4 separate regions of the Homo sapiens genome follow, and all the other regions are linked to region 1. Evidence: promoter capture Hi-C in 16 types of primary human blood cells and fetal thymus (Javierre and others, 2016). All regions are on one chromosome and are shown on one strand. The core of a region is centred on a gene start or on the middle of the fragment in contact, and the rest is flanking DNA. Distances in the headings are between cores, read along the strand shown. Region 1 holds the start of RWDD3 (RWD domain containing 3). Region 2 overlaps CCDC18-AS1 (CCDC18 antisense RNA 1). Region 3 has its middle 12 kb from the start of PTBP2. Region 4 overlaps DNTTIP2 (deoxynucleotidyltransferase terminal interacting protein 2).

What was found. The method cuts DNA at HindIII sites, captures the fragments that hold promoters and counts their contacts. A CHiCAGO score of 5 or more calls a contact.
Region 2: a fragment that was not itself captured here is called in contact with the fragment with the promoter of RWDD3 in region 1 in 1 of 17 cell types (non-activated CD4 T cells); the score reaches 5.6 in non-activated CD4 T cells.
Region 3: a fragment that was not itself captured here is called in contact with the fragment with the promoter of RWDD3 in region 1 in 1 of 17 cell types (naive CD8 T cells); the score reaches 5.0 in naive CD8 T cells.
Region 4: a contact is called between a fragment that was not itself captured here and the fragment with the promoter of RWDD3 in region 1, in 4 of 17 cell types (non-activated CD4 T cells, total CD4 T cells, naive CD8 T cells and 1 more). The highest score is 8.7, in non-activated CD4 T cells.

What each region holds. Positions count from the first base shown.
Region 1 is chr1:95,232,919-95,235,477 of GRCh38, forward strand. RWDD3 (RWD domain containing 3) reads left to right here and starts at 1,292. Exons shown (of 4, transcript NM_015485.5): 1 at 1,292-1,397. The coding sequence starts at 1,313. The region is part of intron 7 of TLCD4-RWDD3 (TLCD4-RWDD3 readthrough); the gene reads left to right. RWDD3-DT (RWDD3 divergent transcript) reads right to left here and starts at 1,064. Exons shown (of 4, transcript NR_125949.1): 1 at 782-1,064. RefSeq lists silencers at 1,033-1,362, 1,573-1,752. The HindIII fragment of the contact is 4,366 bases long and covers 287-2,559 here.
Region 2 is chr1:93,341,305-93,343,863 of GRCh38, forward strand. The region is part of intron 1 of CCDC18-AS1 (CCDC18 antisense RNA 1); the gene reads right to left. Among named protein-coding and RNA genes, the nearest start is that of CCDC18-AS1, 3.2 kb to the right of the region's middle. The HindIII fragment of the contact is 1,219 bases long and covers 669-1,887 here.
Region 3 is chr1:96,708,102-96,710,660 of GRCh38, forward strand. No RefSeq gene overlaps it. Among named protein-coding and RNA genes, the nearest start is that of PTBP2, 12 kb to the right of the region's middle. The HindIII fragment of the contact is 8,514 bases long and covers 1-2,559 here.
Region 4 is chr1:93,873,514-93,876,072 of GRCh38, forward strand. It overlaps DNTTIP2 (deoxynucleotidyltransferase terminal interacting protein 2), which reads right to left. Exons shown (of 7, transcript NM_014597.5): 3 at 2,132-2,270. Among named protein-coding and RNA genes, the nearest start is that of DNTTIP2, 4.4 kb to the right of the region's middle. The HindIII fragment of the contact is 7,821 bases long and covers 1-2,559 here.

The DNA of each region.
Region 1 (2,559 bases), core at 42-2,541:
AAATTCCCAGATTTATCTCATGAAATGTGATTTCTCATACAAACAAAAGTTGTGAGAACTCCATGAGCAAGACCAGCTGCTTGTGGGGACTGCCAAATTTTAAACTGTTATTTGAACAGCAAAAAGACCAGGCAAACATCCGAGAGACAGACCTAACTGCAGATAAGTCTTGTAATCTTGTTCACTATAGTCAAAACAGAATGGATTGCTTATTCTGTTACCCTATTGGTATTGCTCACATTTTAAAATTTAGGTGCTGGGCTCAAGAATGATAATTTTATTATTAAGCTTCAAGAGTCACATTGTATTGTATGCATTGAATATCACGAAATCGAAAACACTGAAAAGCTAGCGTTTACATTCTTGGATCATACCCCCAAAGGCCAAGGATTCCCACTGGCCGCTTGCAGCAGGGCTGTCTCCTGTGAAGGCAAGAGACAAACGAGGAGCGTTATGACACTTTGCTCCCAGGACTTTGGCGCACAGTTCCCATGAGTCCAGGTCCGTCCAGTCAACATCCTGAAGCCAGGACTGGCAGGTCCTGACCCTCCCTTTTTGCACCCGTAAGGGGAAGGGCCCGGGAATCTGGACCTTGTCTAGAGTCCCGGCGCCAGTACCAGTTCGGAGGGCATCCTGGAGGTTGTTACTAACCCGAGCCTCTTCCAGGCTTCCCAGGCACCAGGGTTGCTAACAGCTCCACGGGGGCGAATAATTTTGTTTATTTTGTTAACTGTGGTTATCTCCAACACTCAGTTCAGACCTGAGCCGGGCAAAGTCTCACCTTGTCTCCTGGTCACTTCCCTGCTTGTTTGTTTCTTCCTAACTCCCAAGTGTCTTTCGCCCAGTTCATCCCCACCTCAGCAGCCCAAGGCTCGGCGGGGACGGTCGGGGTTCGAAGCCTGCAGCTAAACTTAGAGGGTTCAGGCTTTGCTGGGAGGCCTCCCTGTGCTCAGAAGAGCCGGGGGTAAGCTGGGCGGTCGCCTTGGGTGCAGACAGAGGCGCAGGGCCTCGGCCTCCAAGAAAATTCCCAAACCGAGAGGCTGAGCTTCGCGTCTGTAGTTACTGAGCAGGAGCTTCTGGGCGGAACTTCTAAGGGCCCCGCCCGCCCCGTCTGCCCTGACCCTCGCCCGGACTCGCCTCGCCCACGTCCCGTTTCGCTTCGCCCCAGCTCCGTCTCGCCCCGCCCCCGTCCCGCCCGGTTGCGGAGGCGCGGGGCGCCCCCGGGTGGCCGCGGGCAGTGCTGCTCCTGGCCGGTGGAGGCGGCGGCTGCGGCAGCGGAAGGGGAAGCGCTGAGGCGGTGGGGCCCACAGCCATGGCGGAGCCTGTGCAGGAGGAGCTCTCGGTCCTGGCCGCGATTTTCTGCAGGCCCCACGAGTGGGAGGTGCTGAGCCGCTCAGGTGACTACCCGCGCGCGGGAGGGACAGGGCGCCCTCAGGGGCCACCCGCGTTCGCTTTGCGTCTCCTCCCCACCACGGAGCCTGGGCACCCCGCCTGGGCCCACGTATGGGGACCGGGTTAGTTGAATGATGGAATGACACGCCCGGAGGCCGGAGTGGTGTCGCAGCGGGCGGGAGTGTGAGGCGACCCCAGAAACACTAAGAGAGCGGCGCGGCCCACTGGGGCCTCTGCCGCCGGTCCCGCTCCCGGAGCCGGGGGCCCCTGCGTGCGCACCCCCAGGCCCTCCCCCAGCCTCCCACCCCTCAGATCTCACCCTATAAAGAAGCCTGTGCTGACGCCCCCTCGTTGTTCTGTGTCCTTCCTAAGCACTATGCCCTAGGCCCCCCCGAGAGCACTCCCCGGTTCTAACTCTACACGGGTATTTGTAGGTCTTAAGTTGCAGGAGGGCAGGGTCTGTTTGGTAATGACTCCAGGCACCTGGTAGGTAGTAGGTAAATGTTTGTTGACTGAACTTTTTCATTTATCCAGTGCTCAACCTCAACTTTATCTGCATTCTATTTCCAAGTTGATTGCTTTTCTGATACTTTTTTTTTTTTAGGTGGAGTCTCTCTTGTTGCCCTGGCTGGAGTGCAGTGGATCCATCTGGACTCACTGCAGCCTCCGCCTCCCGAGTAGCTGGGATCACAGGCGCGTGCCACCATGCCTGGCTGAATTTTATTTATTTTATTTTATTTATTTTTTATTTTTTAAGACGGAGTCTTGCTTTGTCGCCTAGGCTGGAGTGCAGTGGCGCGATCTCGGGTCACTGCAACCTCCGCCTCCCGGGTTCACGCCATTCTCCTGCCTCAGCCTCCCGAGTAGCTGGGACTACAGGCGCCCACCACCACGCCCGGCTAATTTTTTGTATTTTTTTTTTTAGTAGAGACAGGGTTTCACCGTGTTAGCCAGGATGGTCTCGATCTCCGGACCTCGTGGTCCGCCCGCCTCGGCCTCCGAAAGTGCTGGGATTACAGGCGTGAGCCACTGCGCCCGGCCTTTTTTTTTTTTTTTTTTTTTTTTTGAGACAGAGTCTTGTTCTGTCCCCCAGGCTGGAGTGCAGTGGCGCGATCTCGGCTCACTGCAAGCTCCACCTCCTGGGTTCACACCATTCTCCTGCCTCAG
Region 2 (2,559 bases), core at 28-2,527, 1.9 Mb before region 1:
TGCTTTCTGTCTTTGAACATTTTTCAAAAAATTCTACCATCCTTAAAGGTCTTTATCCAGTTTCAAAGTTAACAAATATTTATTGAGTGCCAAGGACTGTCCTGGCTCTGGGGATGCAGAAATAAACCAGACCCTCACTGGCTCTGGGTACTTACAGTCTAGCTTAAACAAACCCTGCTATAGAGGGACTTGTTACATAGCCCTACTATATGATCCCACATCTCCGCTGTCCAACTCTCACTGGATACATCCATTTGGATAGCTATTTCTTTCTCTCCATCCAAATCTACCTCTTCTTACCATCATTGTCCCCACCTCCATTATTATTTAGGCACGGTCCTCGTATCTCACGGTAGATGCAGGCAGAAGCTAAATCCTGTAAATTCTGTTTCCAAATGCCTCTAATTTGTTTCTTTTATCTTATTATCACCAAACTTTCTTTGTTCAGGTCTACATCATTACTATTTTTACAATAGCTTAATAATTAATGTTCTTGTCTCTGTCCATTCCAGACCATCTCACATGCGAACTCAAACTAATCTTTTTAAACATTATTGTTTATGTCATCCCCCTTCTCAAAAATGTTCACTAACTCTTTCCACTGCTTACAAAAGGATCTCCAGACTTCTTAAAATGATGTGGAAAGACTTGAGACTTTGTAGTCAGAAAGCTTGGGTTGCATTTCCAATCTGCCACTTATTCACTCTGTGACCTTGAATAATCTCACTGGGCTTCAATTTTCCCATCCATCAATTGGGATTAATGACTAGTTATAAAGACCAAATACATGTGAAAGTGCTTTATATTTTTAAAGTCCTATAATGAATATAACCTTTTTTCCTTTTTTTTTTTAATTTAGAGATAGTTACCAAATTACAAATAGCTTCAGCTTTGGAGTTAAGTAACAACCTGGTTTGAAATTTCAGCTCCATTACTTATTATCTGTGAGACTTTGAACAAATTAGTAAAACTCTCTGAGACTGTTTTCCCCCCATGTCAAAACACCTATTTTGCATGGCTATATGGAAATTAAATGAAATAGCAAATATGAAAAACTTTTGGCCCAGTGTATAATTCATATCAGGCACTGATCTGTTTTCTTTTTGCCCTAACCTACTTTTCCTGCATCATATACCACTACACCTCTTTACAAACCTTATTAATAGAGCCACTCTAGACTACTTTATTTCCCCAAGCCATACAATGTACTTTTGTGTTTTTTCTTCAGCTACATGCTCTTTCCTTCCCTATCAAAATTGTACTCAATCTTCAAGGTGCAGTTAAAATATCCAGTCCTCCATAAAACCCTTTGTACTCCACAACTAGTGTGTTAATCACTTCTTCCCATGCATTCTTAGCCTGTATATTTTATCACAATATTTATTTGAATCTGGTTTATATTCTGCTTCTCCCACCAGATTATAGGGTCTTCAAGAACAAGGTGGGAGTTATATTCATCTTTATTTCTCCCACATCATAGTCAGGACACTAGACAGTTATTGAATGAATGTAGAAATCAGATGCTGTCTTCTCTTTCCACTTTCTATAGGACACCACTTCTACAAATGCCTGCCCAAACATGTGCAAAAGCAAGCACATCTTCTCTAAACAGCTCCCTTTCAACTCCACTGTTTTTGACAGTGACACTCCCCTAACCCTACTCTGAGGCTAAACTTTTTTTTTCCTTTTCTTGAGGCAGGGTCTCACTCTGTCACCTAGGCTGGAGTGTAGTAGTGTCATGGCTCACTGCAGCCTCAGCCTCCTGGGCTCAAGTGATCCTGCCACCTCAGCCTCCCAAGTAGGTAGGATCACAGGTGTGCACTACCACACCTAGACAACATGAAAAAAAAAAGTTTCATATATATGCATTCTCTCTGAAACTCTTAAAGCTTAATAAGGAGATGTTCTCTTTGTCCTTAAAAGCCTATTTATAATACAGATACATGTAGTGTACTATAAATAACTATTTAAATATGGGCTACAGATTAGCATATTTTATGACATATCACACTGGTATTTATATCCAATTAAATTTCTCTCAGCCACGTATGTAATAAACTAGTTACATGGTTCATTACTAGTTGAAGACTGACCAAGCCTGATAAAGATGATAAAAGACACTAACATTATATAACACTTCATACTATAAAAAGTACTTTCACACAACTCTCATTTGATTTTGAATCCTGTGTGTTACATAATATTTCTATATCTGAACTGAAGAAAATGAGGCTTGGAGAGTGACTTGTCTAAGTAAAAAAAAAAGCTGGGACTGGAACCTACAACTCTTACTACACATTCAATTCTGTTTATGCTACCACAGAAGCCTGTAGCAATAAACTATTACTGAAATAATGTGTGCTCTACTCGTCTATTTAGCATAAGTCTATAAACATAAATGTTACATGAAAAAGCAAAGTTATAGTTTTTTCAGGAGAGACAAGATAAGGGTCAGTGACACTGTGACAACTTGGGACATTTTTTGCCAGCCAGCTTTTTCAGACGGATAAACTTGTTAAGGTCAAGATAAATTTAGGCACCATAATAAATCTTTAAATC
Region 3 (2,559 bases), core at 17-2,516, 1.5 Mb after region 1:
GCTGGTCTCGAACTCCTGACCTCGTGATCCACCCACCTTGGCCTCCCAAAGTGCTGGGATTACAGGCATGAGCCACCGTACCCGGCCACCACTGGATAATTTAACAAAGCCCACTTATTAATTCATTCCATAATTATTTATTGGCTATTTACTTTGTGCCAGAAATTGTTCTAGATATGGGAAGAGCAGCAAAAAACAGAATATGCAGTCACTGCTCTTATGTAGTTTGCGTTTTAAGAGATGGGAGGTGAGACAAATAATAATCAACTAAACATAGACAATGTAATGTTAGGCTGATTATCCCTAAGAAGAAAACTAAAATACAGAAGGGGATAGAGAGTGATGGGATAGTTATGATTTTAAATATAACCATCAGGAAAGGCCTCTCTGAGGGGGTCACTTCTGAGCAATACTTAAATGAAATAAGAGAGAAAACTGCAAAGATGTGGGAGATGGGCATTCAAGGCAAAAAGTAGAGCCGGAGGCTGATCTGCTTGACAGCATGTTCTAGATATAACAAGGTGGCCTGTATGAGCAGTGTGCTAGAGCCAGCTAGTACTGGCCCGTGAGGACTAATTATGTGCATCTCTTCCCAACTCTGTGTTTATCATATTTGTAGCTTGAAATTGGCCATAGTGGGAGTACTTACATTAAGCAAATCAGCAGACACAATGAAGCAGTGCTTCTCTGCCAAAGAGCCGTTTCTTAAACTTTTGCCGGCACACCAGTGTTTTTGTTCCAGTGCACTGAAGAAGGGGAGATTAGTAAAGGCAAAATCATCTTGTCAGGATTTAGATCTGACTTCTATGAGCCCAATTCACATGGTGGAGTCCTGGTCAAATGATTGTGCTTGTTTCCTTATAAATCCTTATAAACTCCCATACCCCAAAACTTGAAGTAAACTTGATAGTTACTGCTTTTCTTATTTGCAAACAATGTCAAAGAAAAAAGCCTTTCTTCCCTATCCCTGAACTTATGTGCCATTTCTACTTTTCAAAAATGTTTAGCCTCCTCCTTTGATCTGTAACTTTGGTTTTATCGTGTTCACAATACCACCATCTAAACCTGAAAGAACATAAAACAGCCTAGAGAAAGGCTAGGAATCAAAAATACTAATACTTCTCAAAGTGAGTAGGACATAATAATGGTTTCGTAATACCCAAATAGAAAGATATAGTACTTTCGTGCAGCCCTAAAATACTCAGCATCGTAGAACTGCTATCGTAATTTTTTTAGAACTTCTTGTCAGCTATGAGTGTGATGGTAGTGATGGTAAAGCAAGTAATGCATTGCAAAAAATGTCATATGACATTGTTTTCTTTTTTTTTTTTTGAGATGGAGTTTCGCTCTTGTTGCCCATGCTGGAGTGCAATAGTGCCATCTCAGCTCACCGCAACCTCCGCCCTGCCCCAGGTTCAAGCAATTCTCCTGCCTCAGCCTCCCAAGTAGCTGGAACTACAGGTACACACCACCACGCCTGGCTAATTATGTATTTTTAGTAGAGACGGGGTTTCTCCATGTTGGTCAGTCTGGTCTCAAACTCCCGACCTCAGGTGATCTGCCTGCCTTGGCCTCCCAAAGTGCTAGGATTACAGGTGTGAGCCACTGCACCTGGCTTCATTGTTTTCAATTAATTCACAGTGTATGCAATTACAATTAATGTGTAGAGAGAATCTTATTTTTACTTTTTTATATAAGTGATAGATTTCATTGATTAACTCAGATACTTAAATACAGATAAAAAGAGGTTAAAAGCAAAATAAAAGTTTTATTGGTTATGAATCTGGTTGCAAGTCATAGAAATAACTTGACTGGCTTAAAGAAAAGAGAGAGACACACACGGACAGAGACAGAGACAAAGAGAGAGAGAGACTCAAGGGAAAGATTAGCTTTGGATCTTAGGAAATACTGGAACTAGGAACTGGAAAGCCATTGTAGATATAGTCTCTGTCACTTAGTTTTGTTCTCTCTACATCAGCTTCATTCTTTTTTCCCTTCTTTAGATCAGTTATCTCTCCTCTTAGCCCACATTGTAGAAACTGGCTATCCACTATTTCTGAGTTGACGTTACATTTCTAATGAAAAAAGAGGGCCAACAGAGTCTTTTCTCTTATTTCTTAACTTCCGTGTGGAAGAATCTGACTGGCACACTTTGATAAGCGGCCCATTCCTGATCTAATCAGCTATGGCCTAAAAGACTGGGCTCACACAGAACAAATATGGCTGTTGAAAGCCCATCTGTTTGAAGAGGGTCAAGGAATTAGGAAAGAGATTCATACAGAAAAAGGATTTTTTTATGGACTAAGCCGATACCTCGTAAGTGGCCACATCGAAATTTTTTTTTTTTTTTTTTTGAGATGGATTCTCACTCCTCTGTCATCCAGGCTGGAGTGCAGTGGCACTATCTTGGCTCACTGCAACCTCTGCCTCCCGGGTTCAAGTGATTCTCCTGCCTCAGCCTCCCGAGTAGCTGGGACTACAGGCGCCCGCCACCAGGCCCGGCTAATTTTTGTATCTTTAGTTGAGATGGGATTTTGCCATGTTGGCCAGGCTGGTCTC
Region 4 (2,559 bases), core at 41-2,540, 1.4 Mb before region 1:
ATCACTTGAGGCCAGGAGCTTGAGGCTGCAGCAAGCTATGACTGTGCCACTCACTCCAGCCTGGGTGACAGAGTGAGACCCTGTCTCCCCCCAAACCCAGCTCCCTCCCAAAAAAAAAAAGAAAAAAGAAAAAAAAGGCCAGGCACGATGGCTCATGCCTATAATCCCAACTCTTTAGGAGGCCAAGGCAGGACAATCACTTGAGGCCAGGAGTTCAAGACTAGCCTGGGTAACATAAGAAAACGCCATTTCTCCAAAATAAATAAATAAATTTGTGCAGTCAAATCTGTTTATCTTTTCCTAAATGATTTCTGTACTTTTGTTACTTGACTAGGATGATTATATTCTCCTAAAACTCTGTGTGACTAAAGGAACCTCAGGTTAATTAGTATTTTTCTCAGTACAAGAACCAAGTAAGACTGCTCTGTAGCCCTCAAAATAGTTTACAGGAATATAGTACAAGCATTAATTTGGGACTGACATTTGAAATGATCAACTCAGAAATTAACAGTCAGGCACACAATTCAGGTTCAGGCCTAGATGTTTCTGTGTGGTATAGGTAGCCGTCTAGGCTTTCCTATCACTCATAAAAGGGGGCATGATATTTACTTAACAAATGATTAAGAGTTTGCTGTGAGTCAAGTACTGTAGTACATTCAAGGACAGTGGTTCTCAACTGGGAGCATCTGGCAATGTCTGGAGACATTTTTGGTGGTGGTGAGGATAAGGAAGAATGCTACTGACATCTAGTGGGCAAAAGATAGGGATGCTGTTAAACATCCTACTATGCACGGAACATCTCACAACAAAATTATGCAGCCCAAAACATCAGTAGTGCTGAGACTGAAAAACCCTGTTTTAGGAATATAAAGAAAAGATGGTAAGTTAATATATCACATGATCAACAATGAATCAGATCTATGCTAGATGTTATGGAAACAGAGGGGTTGTGAGAAGGACTGGAGGTAAAATATTCCCCAAGGGCAACGATCAATTATTTTGCACTTGCTTGGGGAAAAGCAGGGTAAGTTCAGGCAACTACAGTAGTCTTCAGTGGCAAGAATAGAGCAGATGACAGCTGGGTGGGGTAGAGAGGTACTTTGAAGGATTCAAGAGAATACTGTCACATCTGTGTGTGTGGTGTGTTTTTTGGGGCAGGGAGGAGAGATGTGGTCTAGCTATGTTGCCCAGGTTGGTCTCAAACTCCTGGGCTTAAACAATTCTCCTGCCTCAGCCTCCCAAAGTGCTGGGATTATAGATGTGAGCTACCTTGCCCAGCCGGATTTGTGTTTTTAGACAGAGAAATCTAGAAGTGTGGAGGATGGCTTGAAGAACAAGATGAAAACAAGATCAATAAGGAAGCCACTGGAGTAGTCCAGATGAGAAGCAAAGGCCTGCACTAGCTGGTGACAGTCGCTTGAAAAGGAGGAAGCAGAGAAATATCTTCCCCTAGAGGCTTGGTGACTGACTACAAAAGGAAAAGAGAGTTTGGTTTCATTAGCCAGAAAAAAGAATACAAGAAGAGGATTCCTGGTTCAGGCAGGGAAAGGGGAATTAGTGACGTCAAGTACCTGAGGACATCTAAATGAACAAATAGGTACTTGGATTTAAAGGTCTGAAAGTGACAGTGAGAAGCATCAAGGCTAGAAAATATAGATTTAGGAGAAAACAGTGCAAGGTGTTGGCTAAAGCTAAGGGTTTGGGTAAAGTTACCTTAACAGTAATTCCTTCTGAAATTATATGTAAAATGTCTATATGCACATGTGCATTTTTTTCCGGGTGGAAGAGGCAGGCAGGCATTCACAGCTTTCAGATTCTCAACAGTCTACACTAGTTAAGAACTTAAGAACTAAAAGTATAGCAAGAAAAGGGAAAAAAACAAAACCCCTGGGATCATAATTGGTGGGTGTAAGATGAGGAACACTGACCCTGTATTGATTTATTTTTAAAGCATTATCATTCATAGATAGGATTTTATTGTAAAAAGAAATGACTGTTTTAGAGAGAAGGAAAAAACTAACACATTAGGCCAATGTGGTTTCACTGTAGGAAAATTAAGTCTTTTACCAAGGACTAATTTCTAAAAGTGATTGGTTAGTTCTGTGAAAACCTAACAGCACAATTAACTTACCTCATTTTTCTTTTTCTCCTTGATCTGTGTTAGGGTTCTCTTGTTAGACTGTAGTTTATCTGCATTAAAATTAATATACAAACCACCCAACTGCTTGATACTCAGACCAGGGTCTATGCTGCTGCTTGTCAACTTCAGACTGAAAAAGAAATCATCACTTAAAGATCAAGTAATTAAATCAAAATGGAAACATATAAGATGGCATTTTAAAAAATCACTTATTCTTCTCTTCCCTTGTATTGTCCACAATAAAGAAAAAAAAGCATCTTATTTTTATGAGGAATTCCTGAAAAAAAACTCTAAATAAATATATTTTTCATCATTTTATTTTATTTTTTGAGACAGGGTCTCACTGTTGGCCCAGGATGGAGTGCAGTAGTGACCACTGCAGCCTTGAACTCTTGGGACTCAAGTGATCCTCCTACCTC